Regions from separate parts of the Homo sapiens genome. Here region 2 is linked to region 1. The links are contacts of gene promoters, found by promoter capture Hi-C in blood cells and fetal thymus (Javierre and others, 2016). All regions are on one chromosome and are shown on one strand. Each heading gives the region's core, a stretch centred on a gene start or on the middle of the fragment in contact. The rest is flanking DNA. Distances are from core to core; before and after follow the strand shown.

Evidence for each region. The method cuts DNA at HindIII sites, captures the fragments that hold promoters and counts their contacts. A CHiCAGO score of 5 or more calls a contact.
Region 2: a fragment that was not itself captured here is called in contact with the fragment with the promoter of SOS2 in region 1 in 2 of 17 cell types (non-activated CD4 T cells and M2 macrophages); the score reaches 6.9 in non-activated CD4 T cells.

What each region holds. Positions count from the first base shown.
Region 1 is chr14:50,230,094-50,234,294 of GRCh38, reverse strand. SOS2 (SOS Ras/Rho guanine nucleotide exchange factor 2) reads left to right here and starts at 2,717. Exons shown (of 23, transcript NM_006939.4): 1 at 2,717-3,098. The coding sequence starts at 3,012. RefSeq lists an enhancer at 1,806-1,895 and a silencer at 2,046-3,125. The HindIII fragment of the contact is 6,352 bases long and covers 1,838-4,201 here.
Region 2 is chr14:49,701,585-49,705,910 of GRCh38, reverse strand. The region is part of intron 1 of KLHDC1 (kelch domain containing 1); the gene reads right to left. Among named protein-coding and RNA genes, the nearest start is that of KLHDC1, 11 kb to the right of the region's middle. The HindIII fragment of the contact is 1,756 bases long and covers 971-2,726 here.

The sequences.
Region 1 (4,201 bases), core at 1,468-3,967:
TTTTTTTTGCCCTTTTTTTTTTTTTTTTTTTTTTTTTTTAAAGAGACAGGGTCTTACTGTGTTGCCCAGGCTGGTCTTCAACTCCTGGCCTCAAGCTATGCTTCTACCTCGGCCACTGGAGTTGTTGGGATTACAGGCATGTACCACCATGCCCGGCTCATACATTTATAAAAATTGAATTTATCGGTCTTTTAGATCTTGTGTCATAGTGAAAGTGTCTTTTTCCGTTCTGAGGTTATAAATGAATCATTGTATGGTTTTATTGTTTACATTTAAATCTTTGACATATCTGGAGTTTTTGCTAGTGTATTGTATAGGGTATGGATCCAACATTTTTTCTAGATAGCCCATTTGTCTGAATGAGAAACTTTTTTTTTTTTGAGACGGAGTCTTGCTCTTGTTGCCCAGGCTAGAGTGCAATGGCGTGATCTAGCTCACCACAACCTCCACCTTCCGTGTTCAAGCGATTCTCCTGACTCAGCCTCCCGTGTAGCTAAGAATTACAGGCATGCGCCACCTTGCCCAGCTAGTTTTGTTATTTTTAGTAGAGAGGGGGTTTTTCCATGTTGGTCAGGCTGGTCTCAAACTCCCGACCTCAGGTGATCCACCCGCCTCGGCCTCCCAAAGTGCTGGAATTGCAGGTGTGAGCCACCTCGCCCGGCCCTGAATGGGAAACTTTTTACTGCTGTCATTCTTGGACTATCCTCCACATGCACGTGGATCATATTTCTGTTTGCTCAGCCCAGACATCAGAACTCAGATGCCTGTAGAGACTAGGCAAGTTACATAAAAGGGTGAAGAGTGCCAGGTGGGAAGTATAGCCAACTGGAAATGGATGGCATATTTTTATAAAGAGGGCAGCCACTACCCGGTGCCTGCTGATTACTCTCTTGCACGAATGCAGTAGGTCCCAGTGTTGCCAGATCTTTGTCAAGAGAAGCTGAAAATATACATTTTTATATGAAGCCTCTTGATTTTAAAATGTTAACAATTAAATTTAAATACAGCCTTAGCTAAACAAAATATGTCTTCAGGCCTGACTTGGCCCAGAAAAGCCTTCTGATATTCCTAGCCAAGAATGAGATTTCTAACAAGTTTACTCTCCTATGAGTAAAGAGAACATACATGGTCTAGTAGTTTGACATCACAGTAGTTTATAGCTGGAGTCTGGGAACAGGAGAGAAAAGTAAGGACCCTCTATATAAGCCAAAGTCTTCGCTCTCACAGACTGAAACATTAATGGGAGAAATACAAGCATTTTACCATCCCACCTTTTATCCCAAGTACATGTGAATGGATATGGCCATTTATTAGAGGATGTTCTTGATTTAGTGGATACTTTAGTGGATTAGAAAAATAATCTTATTTTCCAACTCTGCCATTCTGATTTTGCCCAAATGAAAAAGTGGTGCATGTTTTGGGGAGAATAATTGCTCAGCTACTGATGCCGGAACTGAATTGTAGTACTGACTTATTTTTTGTACCCTGTTCGTCTTTTCCCTTTCTCACTGCTGGTGGCTAGGGACAGGGAGTAAAATATCTTCTTTACAACCTGTTAAAAGTAATGTGCTCAGCCTCTTTAGTGGGATGAAATTTGTGGTAATGAGTTACCAGAGCCTATGCCTCTTTGGATTGAAAAGCTTGTCAGGATCTTTTCTGGGTTGCTAATGAGTGTTTCCTAGACGCCGATCCAGGTTTTGTAGGACCTGAAGCCTACACAATTTGGATGACACGATTAAGAAAACAATTCGAAAATATCTTGAAAGTTTTGTAAAAACGATATGATTTTGTGAACGCACAGGGGCCCGTGCAAGTGAAGGACCTTTCAATTCAAGCTTGATCAACGTCACTGTCATCTGCCCCTTCTGACCCTACCACCAGGCTAAGGGCTTTCCACGCCTCATCTCTCGGTCCCCACACCATCACCCTAAGAAATAGTTACTGTATCTCCTAACGATATATTATATATAGTACCTACTTTGTGTAAACATACGGTACTCATGAAAACAAGCCACGTAGAGCACAAATACGTTAAATATCCTGTCCAGCCCGAATGCCCCTTTCTCTCCACGTCCCTATGCAGCCTCCCACGACGGTAGTCCTGGGGCTCCAGCGCTACAAGAGTGGCACCGAGTCCGGATTGTCTTAAGCAGGTCGAGAGGAGGGAGCATATGGGTAAAAAGCAGTCAAACTGAAGAGTCTGGAGCGGCCCCCAGCACAGTCTCGGGAAAAGCGGACTCCCCCGGGGCCCCAGGCCCCGCACCCCCGCGCCGGGCTGGCGCCTGTGCCTGCTCCGCGGCGCGCATGCTCCGTGTTAGGCCTCTTGGGCTATTCGGGATAATGAGCGCCGGGCCGAGGGGGCGGGCCGAGCCTCGGCTGCTGGGACTCAGGGCTCAGCGGCGACCCCAAGGCACTCTGCGCTGCTGCTAAAGGGGCAGCAACGGCGGCCAGCGCTGTGCGCGCCATAGCGAGGCTCGCTCGCCCGACGCGCACTCCGGGTCGGTCCCCAGAGCTCTGTGGAGGTGACTCGAGTGGGCAGGGCCGGGCGGCGCTGTCGGCTGGGAGGGCGGGGAGGAGGCGATGAGGAGACGAGCAGCCGCCGCCGCCGCCGCCGCTGCTCACCGCCCGCCGCGGCCGTAGCGGGAGTCGGGGCGGGGCTGGGCCAGCTGTACCCCTGACGGGCCGCGAACCCAGACAAAGGAGGAGGAGCCGCCCCAGAAGCGGGCCAGCGCCGCCGGGAAAGGAGGTCGCCGCCCGGGGTCGCCCGGGCTTGCGGGTCGCCGCGCTTCCTCTGCGGGCGCTGCGGGAGGCGAGGGCCGCCTCGGCGGAGGAAGCCGACCCCGGGGTCTCCGCCAGCCCGCCGGCGCCGCCTCCGAGCCGCCTCGGCCGTAGCCTCGGCCCGGGCGGGAGGCGGCGGCCGCCGGCGAGGCGAGGCGGCCCGCGCCCTGCCTGTCAGGCCACCGGCCCGGCCCGCGGGCTGCCCCCGATGCGGAGGCGCTGTCGCCGGGGCCATGCAGCAGGCGCCGCAGCCTTACGAGTTCTTCAGCGAGGAGAACAGTCCGAAATGGCGGGGACTGTTGGTCTCGGCCCTGCGGAAGGTCAGTGCTAGGGGCGGGGCGGCCGGCGGGTGGCCCGTGGCCCCCCGAGCTTCTAACGGGGAGCAGGTCGTCCCTCCCACAGGGCTCGAGTCCCCGGGGCCGAGCCGTTTCTCGTTGGCTGGCAATGGGGGGCTCACAATTGCCTGTTGCATTCTGAAGGACGTTTCTCAAGTTTTTTTTTTTTGCCTGGTCCCGGAAGGAAGGTTTTGTTATGATCATAAAACTGGATTTCATGTTGCAGTCATTTCGTCAGGCAACTTCCGCCGTTGACCAATTTGTTGTCCTCAGGCTGGAATCGGGCAAGAGAAAGTCCCGCTGGTATTTAGACAGTTTCTAAAACAAAAGCACATTTTCAGGCCGGGTAATTACTTTTAATTAAGTTCTTTGGGAGTGTTCCCCCTAGGCGGTTTGCTTGTCAAGGGTATCCACTTATGAGGCAATGGTTTTTTGTAATATGGATGTTTCACATGTGTGAAATGTCAGTGAGTCATAATATTCTTATTCATTTTACAGTTCTCAAGGTAAATTTAAAGCGCCTTCCCACTTCCTGCAAACGGTGTCTTACCTGTTTACAAGAGATTACCCTTAGAAAATTTGGTCAGTGTCTTCAGTGTCTTCACGACCAAATTGCGATTTAGGACTTGAAATCATTTTAAGGAACAAGAAAGGGGCAACTCCTGCAAATCAGTCTTTCATGTTTGGGTGCATTGCTAGGGTGCATCTTTCCTGTAGATGGTGGCGGTCTTCCTCTGTGAATTTAGGTAGTAACCATACGATCATTTTTATAATAAATCCTTCTGTAAGATCAAGACATTTAAAGACTGTGAATAGGTGCGTGATCAGCTGTCATGCCTGTTGAGCAGGGGCTTTCTTTCTTTGCCGTTAATGCAGACTTAGTCTCTTCTGCCTTTTGTGCAAAATAACCAAGAATACATTCTAAAATAAGGAAAAAATAAAGATTAATTTAAAAGACTATACTTGGAAAATATATCCTCAGACATTAAATTTCTATAAATGAAAGGAAGTAGTGTATTTTAAAGTTAAAGACATTTTCCTCATGCGATGAGAGTTGCAGATTTTCCCTTATTTTCATAATTCTTACA
Region 2 (4,326 bases), core at 599-3,098, 530 kb after region 1:
AAAATATCTCATGCATCCCATAAATATATACACCTACTATGTACCCACAAAAATTAAAATTAAAAAAATTTTTCAATCAGTGAAAAAACATAAACTTACACTCATGTCTGACTGAGGAATCCATATTAAATGGCTAAGTAAACAAATAATTATAAGAAGGGGAGCTACTGTATGAGTCTAAGGTTTAATGGCATTAGGTTCCAGTAGCCTCATGTGTACTCCTTTACAAAAGAAATATTATAGGCTGGGCACAGTGGCTCACACCTGTAATCCTAGCACTTTGGGAGGCTGAGGCGAACAGATCACAAGGTCAGGAGTTCGAGAGCAGCCTGGCCAATATGGTGAAACCCTGTCTCTACTAAAAATACAAAAAAATTAGCCAGGTGTGGTGGCGGGCGCCTATAGTCTTAGCTATTCAGGAGGCTGAGACAGGAGAATTGCTTGAACCTGGGAGGCGGAGGTTGCAGTAACCTGAGATCATGCCACTGTACTCCAGCCTGGGTGACAGAGCAAGACTCCATCTCAAAAAAAAAAAAAAAAAAAAAGAAAGAAAGAAATATTATGAAAGTGAATTGTCATTACTCTGTTTAAGTCCTTTCAATGGCTCCCTATTGCTTTTAGCATAGTCTAAAATGTTTATGATTCTGTATTATATGGTAGCTGCTATCCCTCGAAACTTCAAGTTGCCTTTCACACACAGTACGCCTTCAGTACTTAAACATCTCCTAGTTCCTTGCTATGATAGGACCATTCATCTATTCTCTTTTCTCTCTTATAGTACTCTTTCAGAGTTTGCCTAACTCCTCCTTTTTTGGGAATCAGCTTAAATGTACTTCTCTAACCTATTCTCTAAAATAGCTTAAAGTATTAAGGTCCCCTATTAGAGGCCCTCATAGTCCTGTACTTTCCCTTTGAAGTTCTTTGTATCACACCCACCCTCACCACCACCAATACTGCTAAACTGTAAGCTTCATGAGTACAGGGATCTTGTCTATCTTGTTACGCTCCCAGAGCCTACTACAGTGCCTCACACATAAAAGACAAATAAAATATTTATTGATTGAGTGAGCCACTGCGCCCAGTCCAAGTTTTCCTTCTCTACTGGATTATTCCTATTAATATACAAACATGTCTCATCTCACCTTTCAAAAAAAAGAATTCTCCCTTGACTCCTTTTCTTCCTGTTTCTAGGAATGGTTAGAATATGTTTGACAAGGCCAGGCACAGTGGCTCATGCTTGTAATCCCAGCACTTTGGGAGGCCGAGGTGGGCAGATCACCTGAGGTCAGGAGTTCAAGGCCAGCCCAGCCAACATGGTGAAACTCTGGCCTCTACTAAAAATACAAAAAATTAGCTGGGCATGGTGGCGGGTGCCTGTAATCCCAGCTACTCAGGAGGCTGAGGCACGAGAATTGCTTGAGCCTGGGAGGCAGAGGTTGCAGTGACCCCAGATTGCGCCACTGCACTCCAGCCGGGGCGACAAAGCGAGACTCTGTCTCAAAAAAAAAAAAAAAAAAAAAAAACAGAAAAGGAAAAAAAATAAAAAGACAAGCTATAAATTGAAGACATATTCAACTCACACAATTTTGTATTTTAAAACTTGTATAAATTAGTTAAAAAAAGCAAATAATCCAACAGAAAAATGAGCAAAAGACATGAGCCAGCATTTTTACAAAAGACACAAATAGTCCATAAAGTTAGACGCTCAATTTTATCAGTAACCAAGGGAAATGAAAACAAAAACCACAATGAACTATCATGTCACACTCACTGGAACGGCAAAAACGTAAGGCCAGATGGTACCAAATGTGTTGCCAAGGATATGGGGCAAGGAAATGGCTGGTGGGAGTGTAAATTGATACAAATATTTTGGTAACAGTCTGACATTTCCAAATAATTTTGGAGATGTGCATATCAAGTGATCCAACATTTCATTCATTGGTAGATTCCCTAGGGAATGTACATGCCCTTGTGAATATACAATAGGAAGCATGTTATAAGAATGCTTACAATAGCAAAAAATTAGAAACATTCAAATATTCACCAATAATGGAATGGATAAATTGCAGTAAACTCATAGAGTAGAATGTTATACAGGATATACATCAAATGAATGGATCTAGAGATGATGATTTTCAAATTATTTAACAACTGGGCAGCACAGGCATTGACCAATCAGAATAGATGCCAAACAACAACAGGTACAGCCATACAAGCACACACCAGTTGACTATAAGCAATGTATGAATCTGAAAACTAAAAGAATTCATGGAAGAGGCTGAGCTCACACCTGTAATCCCAGCACTTTGGGAGGCTGAGGTGGGTGGATCACCTAAGGTGAGGAGTCCAAGATCAACCTGGCCATCATGGTGAAACCCCGTTTCTACTACAAATACAAAAATTAGCTGGGTGTGGTGGCGGGCACCTGTAATCCCAGCTACTTGGGAGGCTGAGGCAGGAGGATCACTTGAACCCAGGAGGCGGAGGTTGCAGTGAGCTAAGATCATGTCACTGCAATCCAGCCTAGGCAACAGGAGCGAAACTCTGTCTCAAAAAAAAAAAAAAATTCATGAAAGAAAACATATGCTATGATTCAAAACCAAATAATATATTGTTTAGAGATGTATGTGAAGTAAAATTATAGAGAAAAGAAATTTAAGATAGTGGTAACCTGTATGAGTGGGGGTAGTGGGAGCAATGTAATCAATGCAGGATAAAAGGAAGCTTTTATCCTGCATAATAAACAATAAAGGTATTGTTTATTTCTTAATCTGGAAAGTAAACAGTTGTTTATATTTAAATAATACTTATTTTATACATTCTATTGTATATATATTTCAAATTCAAAAATTAAGTAAATAAAATTTTAAGAAACGAATATTAAGTAGCTCACAGAATCATCAGGGAGGCTGGAGAACCAGCCTCTGGTCGATGCAAGGAAGAGTGAGGTGTGAAACCATGCCAAGAGAGCAGGTCTGTGGTCACTGGTGCACACCACACTGCTGCCTTTTATGCAAGGAAACTTGATCTTCCTAAACTGTATTGCAGGCTAAGAATCTTCTAGAGGTCGTGGTTTTTTATATCTTTATTCCGAAGTCCAAATCTAGCACAGATTCATCTAACCAATGGAGTCCTAGCCACTTGCCTGCAACCTAGCTGCAAGTAAGGCAGGAAAAGTTAGTACCTGACTTTCAGGTATTTTTATTGGGCACCTACTATGAGCTGTAACCAGTTCTAGACATTGAGGATACAACAGAGAACAAGTTACATATCTTATATTTTATGAGGATAAGTAGGAGACAACTAGAATAAATACCCTGACAATATTCACTCACTAGGGGAATACCACAAATAGAGAAAGGTGGTTTATATTCTGGTCATTTAAAAAGAATGATAAATGTCTTCCATATAACATAGATGACCAATGTGATCATTTATGAATATATAAAGTAGAACTATTAGGTTAAAGAGAAAACACATCTTACATTTTTGATACACATTGCTAAATTTCTCCTCAAAAAGGTTACACAAACTTGTACTCTTATTACCAGTGTACTAGTAATTCATTTCTCCACACTCTTTGCCAGAATTCTTTCTCATCTTTGCAAATTGGAGAAGAAAAACCTCATTGTAATTTTTACCTGGGTTTCCTTTGTTTGTATATTTGTATTTATTTTGTAAATTGCACTTATCCATTGCTCATTTTTCAATGGGGATGTTATCTTTTTTTTTTTTTTTTTTTGAGACAGAATTTCGCTCTTGTTGCCCAGGCTGGAATGCAATGGTGTGATCTCGGCTCACTGCAACCTCCGCCTCCCAGGTTCAAGCGATTATCCTGCCTCAGCCTCCCGAGTAGCTGGGATTACAGGCATGTGCCACCATGCCCAGTTACGTTTGTATTTTTAGTAGAGACGAGGTTTCTCCATGTTGGTGAGGCTGGTCTCCCACTCCTGACCTCAGGTGATCTGCCCGCCTCGGCCTCCCAAAGTGCTGGGATTACAGGCGTGAGCCACCACGCCCGGCTAATTTTTGTATTTTTAGTAGAGATGGGGTTTCATCATATTGGTCAGGCTGGTCTTGAACTCCAGACCTCAGGTGATCTGCCTGCCTAGGCCTCTCAAAGTGCTGGGATTATAGGCATGAGCCACCACACCCGACCCTGGTTACAAATATTTTCTCCTTTGCCATTTGCCTCCTCGTTTTCTGGTGTTTAAAAATCAGTTTTTGGTATTTTTTTGTTTTTGTTTTTTTGATACGGAGTTTCGCTCTTGTTGCCCAGGCTAGAGTGCAATGGCGCAATCTCGGCTCACCACAACCTCCACCCTC